3 separate regions of the Homo sapiens genome follow, and regions 1 and 2 are each linked to region 3. The links are contacts of gene promoters, found by promoter capture Hi-C in blood cells and fetal thymus (Javierre and others, 2016). All regions are on one chromosome and are shown on one strand. Each heading gives the region's core, a stretch centred on a gene start or on the middle of the fragment in contact. The rest is flanking DNA. Distances are from core to core; before and after follow the strand shown. Region 1 holds the start of PSMD1 (proteasome 26S subunit, non-ATPase 1). Region 2 holds the start of SPATA3-AS1 (SPATA3 antisense RNA 1). Region 3 holds the start of SP100 (SP100 nuclear antigen).

The links. Contacts are between HindIII fragments. The CHiCAGO score rates a contact against its expected background, and 5 or more counts as called.
Region 1: a contact is called between the fragment with the promoter of PSMD1 here and the fragment with the promoter of SP100 in region 3, in 8 of 17 cell types (activated CD4 T cells, total CD4 T cells, non-activated CD4 T cells and 5 more). The highest score is 9.6, in activated CD4 T cells.
Region 2: a contact is called between the fragment with the promoter of SPATA3-AS1 here and the fragment with the promoter of SP100 in region 3, in 4 of 17 cell types (naive CD8 T cells, activated CD4 T cells, total CD8 T cells and 1 more). The highest score is 7.9, in naive CD8 T cells.

The regions. Positions count from the first base shown.
Region 1 is chr2:231,055,457-231,058,162 of GRCh38, reverse strand. PSMD1 (proteasome 26S subunit, non-ATPase 1) reads right to left here and starts at 1,296. Exons shown (of 25, transcript NM_002807.4): 1 at 1,122-1,296. The coding sequence starts at 1,137. It overlaps LOC112268432 (a long non-coding RNA gene), which reads left to right and starts at 417. Exons shown (of 2, transcript XR_002959456.2): 1 at 417-826. RefSeq lists a silencer at 1,206-1,395. The HindIII fragment of the contact is 9,212 bases long and covers 1-2,706 here.
Region 2 is chr2:230,994,742-230,997,441 of GRCh38, reverse strand. It overlaps SPATA3-AS1 (SPATA3 antisense RNA 1), which reads left to right and starts at 1,410. Exons shown (of 6, transcript NR_033879.1): 1 at 1,410-1,594; 2 at 2,057-2,165. It overlaps SPATA3 (spermatogenesis associated 3), which reads right to left and starts at 1,321. Exons shown (of 5, transcript NM_139073.5): 1 at 908-1,321. The coding sequence starts at 1,208. RefSeq lists an enhancer at 1,277-1,810. The HindIII fragment of the contact is 18,304 bases long and covers 1-2,700 here.
Region 3 is chr2:230,414,815-230,417,514 of GRCh38, reverse strand. It overlaps SP100 (SP100 nuclear antigen), which reads right to left and starts at 1,314. Exons shown (of 29, transcript NM_001080391.2): 1 at 1,187-1,314. The coding sequence starts at 1,218. RefSeq lists an enhancer at 1,148-1,667. The HindIII fragment of the contact is 2,432 bases long and covers 1-2,028 here.

The sequences.
Region 1 (2,706 bases), core at 47-2,546, 640 kb before region 3:
TTCCTGATACTGAACTAAAATTCATCTCGCGATCACTTGTATCTCTTGGGGACAAAAAGTCTTATTTCAGGTACAAGTGACAGCTCTTCAAATGTTTGAAAGTAACTACGTCTCCCAGTATCTCCAACGATCTCCTTAACCAATCCTCATAAAAATAAAGTTTTGATCGCCTTACCATTCAGATTACTGTCTTCTGCTCACCAGTTTGTTTACAATAAAATGCTTTCTTTGTGGGTCAAACACAGAGTAAGAAAATGAGAAAAGGGTATGTAAATAGGCAACGGAAAAAAGCACCAAGGCTCTGGACAGCTATATGCAAGTCAATCTGTAACGGGGAGCTTAAGTCTCCAATTGAAACTTGATCTCTGTAACTTACTCCATTGCAAATGTCACTACGTGAATCTACCTATGCAATGGTTTGCGCGTATGAAACCTGCTCCGCAGATCCATCCATTCTTTCTTGAATGTACAGTCAACAGACTGAGCACATAACCTCGAAAGGGTATAAGTAGGCTCTCAGTATAAAGGTATCTCCAGGGCGTCTTTAGGGTCTTCGCCGAACCCAAAAGTTCTCTGGGTGTTTTGAATGAACACCCTTGGATCGGACCCAGAAATGACCCACCTCAAACCTAATTTCGGGTTTCATTCTAAGGCGAATGGAGCTCGGCCACGTCCAGAAACACTTCTGTAGCAGTTAGGCTGCCCGATCAGGGGGGTTTGCCTTACTGTTCAATGGCACAGGGGCCCATCCCACCCCGGCCCCCTGCGGGCAAGAACTGGGGCTGGACGACCTCACACGGCCAAGAATGGGAGGCACAGAAAAAAGGTAAGCCCTTCTGGGGTCAGGGGAAGGCCCAGGAAGCCCCTCGGGTCCTGGCGCTGGGGTGTGATTGGGGAGGGATGCCGAGGCGGTCGACCCGGCTCGATTCCCTCAAGCCAGAGAAGCACGCAGTGACCTGATCAGACTCCCAGCCCCCCGGCCCGGGGGTGGGCCCTGGGCAGCAAGAAGCTGCCCAGGCCGGCGTTCCGCCGGGAGGCGCCCAGTCACCGGCCCTGACTCAGCTAAAAGCCGGCGCGGCGGCGGCTCCTCCCTCCAGGCGCTGGCTACGGGCCGCACTCACCGGCCGAGGTGATCATGGCTGCGCCCCTCACTCGCCCGTCGGCTCGCTCGCCGTTCCAGCTGCGCAGTGTATCTGTCAGCTCAGGGGCCGCTCAGTTCACCGCGCCTCCTTGCTCCCCGGGTGCGCTGCTCAGTCAGTCGCCTCCTCAGGCCGCCGGCTCGCTTCTCGCCAGGACCCCGCCCGCCCAGGGGCTGCCCGCCACCCCGCCTGCCGCCCGGCGCGAATTCTCCCCTGGCCTGCGTCTTCTGCGCGGCGGTATACTCCCCAGCCCTCGCGGAAGGGTACACAGAGAACACCATTGTTTTCTCTAAACCTCCTCGAGGTCAGGAGTCCCGCGCAACGGAACACTGGTCTGCACCTGAGGTCAGGCATTAGAATGGCCAGCCCTGCAAAGAGAGGACCCCCACCATCACCCGCCATTGCTGAGAGAAAGGGTGTTGAGGGGAGGTGCGAGCATTGCGCGCAGTGCCACCTACTGGTGGGAGGTCTCGCTGCAACACATCTCCCACCAGATAATGCTTAGGGAATTGGGGCTGCCGCAAACAGCGTTTTTTTTTGTTTTTTGTTTTTTTTCCCAGAAAAGTGGCTTTCAATTGTTTTCTAAAGCAAAACCTATCATAAAAAAAAGAAAATCCCCATAGAAGTGCTTTATTATCATAATGAATCCACAAGTAATCATTGGCTTATTATAAAGTTGAACAATGAAGGTTTTTACTTACTTTTGGAAAAATGTCCAGTGTTGTCAATATATTAAAATGTGCAGTAGTTATATGGCGAAAGCCTTTCCAAGGGAGAAAAAATGTCTTCCATTCTTTCCTTCTATCTGCCCAGGTCCTCTTTCCCCCGACGGCAGTGGGTTCTTCGTTTCTAATACATCTTCAGAAATTTGAAATGGCAGTTGCAATGGCCATTTGCAGTCTTATGCTAGCTTCAAGAAGTCAATTTATTTCAAGAGTCAGTACTGAGAAAGTCTTGACAAGGAATAGGGCAAACGGTAGCATTTTTTTCAGCCACCGGCCTTGCACTATCAAGCTAAACTCTTCAATCGCACAGCGATGGCGAGTTCATTTCTACGGCCTTCTACGTAACCTAGGGGCACAATCAATGTCTTGTGGTTGCCAGTGAATTAAATGTGCTTGATAACACATTTTGTTGTATCTGTGACTTTTTTTGTTTAAATTAGAATTCTTAAACTGTGGTTGTTTAAAATATATTAAATATAATTATTGAACATTTTTGAAGAGCCTGTGGCTCAGATTGAAAGGCAGGGCTCGAGAAGATGTGCATGCAAAGTAAACAGATTACTTGGGGTGTCATTCTACAGAGGTACTTCTTTTTTTTTTTTTTTGAGATGGAGTGTCCCTCTGCCACCCAGGCTGTAGGGCAATGGCGCGATCTCGGCTCACTGCAACCTCCGCCTCCTGGGTTCAAGCGATTCTCCTGCTCAGTCTCCCAAGTAGCTGGGACTACAGGTGTATGCCACCACACCCGGCTAATTTTTGTATTTTTAGTAGAGACAGGGTTTCACCATGTTAGCTAGGATGGTCTCGATCTCCTGACCTCATGATCCGCCCGCCTCGGCCTC
Region 2 (2,700 bases), core at 161-2,660, 580 kb before region 3:
GTTTTCACACTGCTGATAAAGACATATCTGAGACTAGGCAATTTACAAAAGAAAGAGGTTTGTGGAACTTACAGTTCCACGTGGCTGGGGAGGCCTCACAATCATGGTGGAAGGTGAAAGGCACATCTCACATGGCGGCAGACAAGAGAAGAGAGTTTGTGCAGGGAAACTCCCTTTTTTAAAACCATTAGATCTCATGAAACTTATTCACTATCACGAGAACACCACGGAAAAGACCCTCCCCCGTGATTCAATCACTTCCCACTGGGTCCTTCCTACAACACCTGGGAATTCAAGAAGAGATTTGGGTGGGGACACAGCCAAACCACATCAGACCCTTAGATCTCTGAGGACAATAAGGAACAAGTCTATTCACATCTTCCACTTGACAGACAGACATCCTCCAATTCCTTCAATTGACTGTCATACACTAAATGGTCTCCCTGATCCTTCTCATCCTCCATCAACCCAGACTATCTTCCTTGGACTAGTTTGTCAGGCATCTTTTACAGCCCAAAAGGATAGCTTGATGAGGACAGAATAAAGCAGTATCATCACCTCCCTTATTCTAAACCATATACTTCTATAAATGCATCCTTGGTTTTTATTTTTTAGCAGTTGCATGGCACTGCTGATTCCTAGTGAGCAAGTATTACTATGGAACCAAGTTAAATGTTTATATGTATGTGTGGCTGTCTTCAGTGAGACTCAGGATGATGAGAAATGACAAAACCCAGGAATCCTGGTCTCTTGGGTAGAAACAAAAACAAAAACCTTCCCACTCTACAGCACAGCTCCAGGATACACGTTAACCATGCATCACTATCCTACAAGAACCAGCCTTTGGGATGACCCAGAACTCCATCAGCAGGAAGGCTGGAACTGCTGAAGCTAGAAGACAGCCCACCTGCTTTCCTGGATTGAGGGGCTGCCTTCACGTTAGCATCTGGAGATAAAAGGCAGCAAGAGGAGCGGCGGATTTCGGGTGCTGGAAGGGCTTGGAATGCTGGCTGCCGGGAGGTGGTTTCAAGGCTGGAATGCTGTGGTGTGGATTCAGGGCTAGGCTGCTGTGGTGTGGATTCAGGACTAGGCTGCTGTGGTGTGGATTCAGGGCTAGGCTGCTGAGAGGTGGAATTGGAGCTAGCATGCTGGGAGGTGGAGTCTCGGTGGCGTCTGGCCTCTGACCTTTTCTTCTTGACCTTCTTCATGGTAGATCCTCCCAACCTAAACGTGGACCTACATGGAGCTGCGTAATCTCCCGGCTCCCTCCTGGAGGGGCCGTTTGCCCTCTGCCCTAGGAGCCTGGCTTGGGCCTCCAGCTGGACCCAGGCCCCACAGAGAACAGTGACCCACACCTCCTGTGAGGTCATAAAAGCCAGGGTGGCTCCTATGGCAGGGCTTCAAGGGACAGTCTTCTCTGCAGACACCAGCCTGGTGTCCTCCTTCATCCCAGGCTGCCAGGCTAGGCAGGGGACAGCGGCTGCCCTGGTCCTCACAGCCCTGGCTACGGGGCTGGTGACAGCCAGATCCTCATGCTTCTGCGACCTGAGCGCTGCCTTCAGACACCTCTCTGCTGGCGTGTTCCTGGGTCCATGTGAGCTACCTGTTTTGCTCTAAGATACCCTGGATGTGACGCTCAGCTCTGTCACTGGCTTCCACATACCCCCTACTCCTACACCTCAAAAATCCATGTTCCCCACGCATTCATCTTCAGGTCAGCTTCCTGAAGATTTGGAGCTTCTTCGAAGGCTTTACCATGGCCCAGAGCCTGCTACCATCTCAGAGTAGCTTACCCCTTCCCCCAAAGCCTGCCCTCCCGCACTGTGGGAGGGGAGTTTGGGGGTTGACTTGACTTTTATAAGAACCTTTGCATTTGGCAGATAATTTTCCCTGAGAACATAACAGCTGTTCAGAAAACTAACATTTGTCTCAAACTCATGGCAATGGCAACCACAGACTATCTCCCAAACCCCAATTGGTTGGGTTAAACAGGTGACTGAATCTTTCTCTAGATTAATTAATTTAATGTGCTCATTAAATGTGATTTTTGTTTTAGGATGGAAGAAGGAAAAGTATTTTTAAAAGACAATCTGAAGCTCATACTGTGACTGCAACATAAAATGTGTTCACCTGAGGAGACTGCTTTCATCGCCAGTGTGTCACAGGTGGGTGAGTGTGGGACTGGCAAGCGCAGGAGCTCCTGCCCCAGCGGAAGGTTTAGAGCAGACCTATGCAGATAAAAAGGGCTTCGGTCACGCCTGTAATCCCAGCACTTTGGGAGGCTGAGGCGGGCAGATCACGAGGTCAGGAGATTGAGACCATCCTGGCTGACATGGTGAAACCCCGTCTCTACTAAAAATACAAAAAATTAGCCGGGCGTGGTGGTGGGTGCCTGTAGTCCCAGCTACTCGGCAGGAGAATGGCGTGAACCTTGGAGGTGGAGCTTTCAGTGAGCCGAGATCGTGCCACTGCACTCCAGCCTGGGCGACAGAGCGAGACTCTGTCTTAAAAAAAAATGGGGGGCTTTGGGCCACACAAAGCCAGACCCAACATGAACTCTGAAATGACAGGACATAGTTTAGGGCTTCTAGAGCCTAAAAATACCTTAATGATGACCTTTCCTCAGAACACTGAGGTTTAGCGAAATTAAGTTACTTTCCCAGGGTCACACAGCTGGCTGGGGGCATCGGAAGGACTAAA
Region 3 (2,700 bases), core at 65-2,564:
ACAAGATAAATATTTGTTTAGATGTAAAAACCCAAAAAGAAATATATAATCATTGTTATGATAGCTTATTGGTAAATGTGAACAATTTAAAAACAATCTAAATGTCCTTCAATTGGAGAATAAATAATTATCATATATCAATTCTATGGAATAGCATGTATAAAAAGAATGAGGCAGATCTATATGTATTAAGGTTAAAAGATCTCTAAGTTTTCCACTATTAAAATAAGTAAAAATGCAAAATGCAGACTAGCACATGTAATATAATTTATTATAAATCAAGAACATAAATTACGTATTTACAAAAAATGCATTAGATATATAAATGCATAGAAAAATATAAGAAAAGCTGTGCCCAAGACTCTTCACAGGACTGGGAAGAGAAGCTACAAGAATGGCTGAGTGGCAAAGATGACTTTTTCCTTAATATACTTCTCCACTGTTTTAAATTTTATGAACAATAATGTACAGTGTATTTCTTTTGTATTAAAAAATTTAAAAGATTAAGTAATGTTATTTCTCAACTCACTACTAGAGAAAAGTTAGGATTTCCTTCTCTTTTCTGGTCAGAGGTATCCCCCATCTTGGGACAGGAAATTGAGGTAAAAATGAAAATATTTAGCCGTTTGTCACCCTGGGCCTTTTTCTTCCCTTTCCTTCTTTTGATCAAGGTTGATGGAATAAGAACTCAGACCCTGAGCCAGTCATGGGAACAGCCGGCAGAGGCCCCTTGCCAGGACAGGTGAGACCACAGCGTCTGATGTTTAAAAGTAAGCCAGGTGTTTACCCTGGAGTGTTTATTTTCTAAAGCACCTTTTTTGACATGACATATTTGAAGGTAGAGGAAGGCTGAGGGGTGAAAGGGTTCACAGATCATGAGGAAATAGTTAATCCCAGCCACCAACAACTGCTATGTTTAGAGTGTCCCGGTCAGCTGAGCAGTAAATCCAAAACAAGAAAGTCACGTGTGTTATGGCAAGTTGAACTCACACCAACAGCTGTCCTGCTCCTGTTTAAAAAATCTGATTTCCTCATTACTTGTCTTTCATTTCATTATATAACATCGCATACCTATGTTCTTGCAAAGAAGGATTAAAGTGAAGCCTTAGGCACAAACTGAACTAAAGGCATGAAAGCTGCAATATAGCCAGAGATAAAGGTTAAAGGAAGGGAGATAAAGACTCACCTGGTGCTCAGGTCGCCGCCCCCACCTGCCATCTTCCCACCCTAGGCCCTGCGTGGGCCTCAGAGCCTGGCCTCTGAGCCCCTCAGTCGGCCCAGCCTGCGTGCAGTGTGGCTGCCCAGGCCCCAAGCAGGAAGTCGGCCGACAGACTGACTCAGAAAGGGCTCCGCCCAAATGGGGAAAAGAGAAGTGAAAGTATTTAACCTCCTTCTGGGCTACGGACACTGTGTTTCTCCTCCTTTTTCACTCCAAGGGATTCTCAGCTTTTCTGAAATGTGGCAGAGGGTTGGAGGAGAGGCCTGACAAGCAGCAAGACCTGCAGGACCAGGGAAGGAGGGCCCAGGGGACGAGCAGGGCCAGCTCCCGGGTGTCCACTTGTTTGTGCAATACACAGCCAAAAAAAATGTCCTTGAAACAAAATTGTCCTTAGCTGCTCTGCCCTCTAAGAGGGGGCATAGTTTACATGGGAGTTGGGGGGGAAACTCCATGTTTGCCCCTTCCCCTTGCTGACATGGCTTGGGGTGGGAGTTGGAGGGTTGGAGGGAAAGCCAGAAACCTCAAATCTTCTCTCAGGCCCATGGGAGAGCATGGACTGGACTAAGGTAGGTCCTGACATTGGGACCCAGGGCTGGAGAGAACCAAAATGCTCAGCATTATAACCTGGGGAGAGTGTGCTTAGCCTTCCTGGAAATCAGCCAGAAGTAAGAGAGAACTCTCCACACCCCTGGGACCAGAGGCTGGAGCCAGCATGGTAAGAAAGGCAAACATTTTAAGGGGCAAGGGTTTAAGGAATCTTGACTATGGGGCCGCCTTGGAACAGCCAGGGGTGAAGAGACACCTAAGCTTCGGAGAAGTCACTGGAATCTTGAGAGAACAAAAGCTTCTCATTGGAGGAGGATGGAGGTTGGAACCCAGATGATCTAGACATGGAAGGGCAGGGTGGCTCCCGCGGGAGGTTCTATCTCTGCCCAGATTTTCCATTTAGATTCTGATTCATCATTCCTCAGAGAACAAGAAGCGACCGAGAAGACTCGCTTTACATCAGTATAAAGTCATAGGTAAAGAAACAGAAGCAAAGGGCGCATGAGAATGGGGCCACAGGACACAACCAGGGACCAGAACTCCAGGCCGGACCATGGGGCAGAGACAGGGAGGCAGCTGGGAGCCTGGGGGCGCTGGAATCCAGGGCCCAAGGTGAGCAGAGGGTGGAAGCTGGTGAGGATTCAGGGGCCAGAGGGGATGGCACTTCAGAACGGTGTTTTCCAAATGGCATTCTACTGAATCCAACTTCTTCCAGCTGTGAATAAGGATGCTTGTCCAGGTACATTTGAAAATGTGGGGGAAGGGGCTTTCTACCCTCACTCTACTTCTGCTCTTCTTTTCCCCATGAGTGAATGACCAGGCACCAGGACATTGGTGAGGACAGCTTTGCCGGTGGGCGAAGGTCACTGTTTCTATCAGGCACTGCACACCTGTAGGTCTCTCTCTCTTTCTCTCACCTGTAGGTCTCTCTCTCT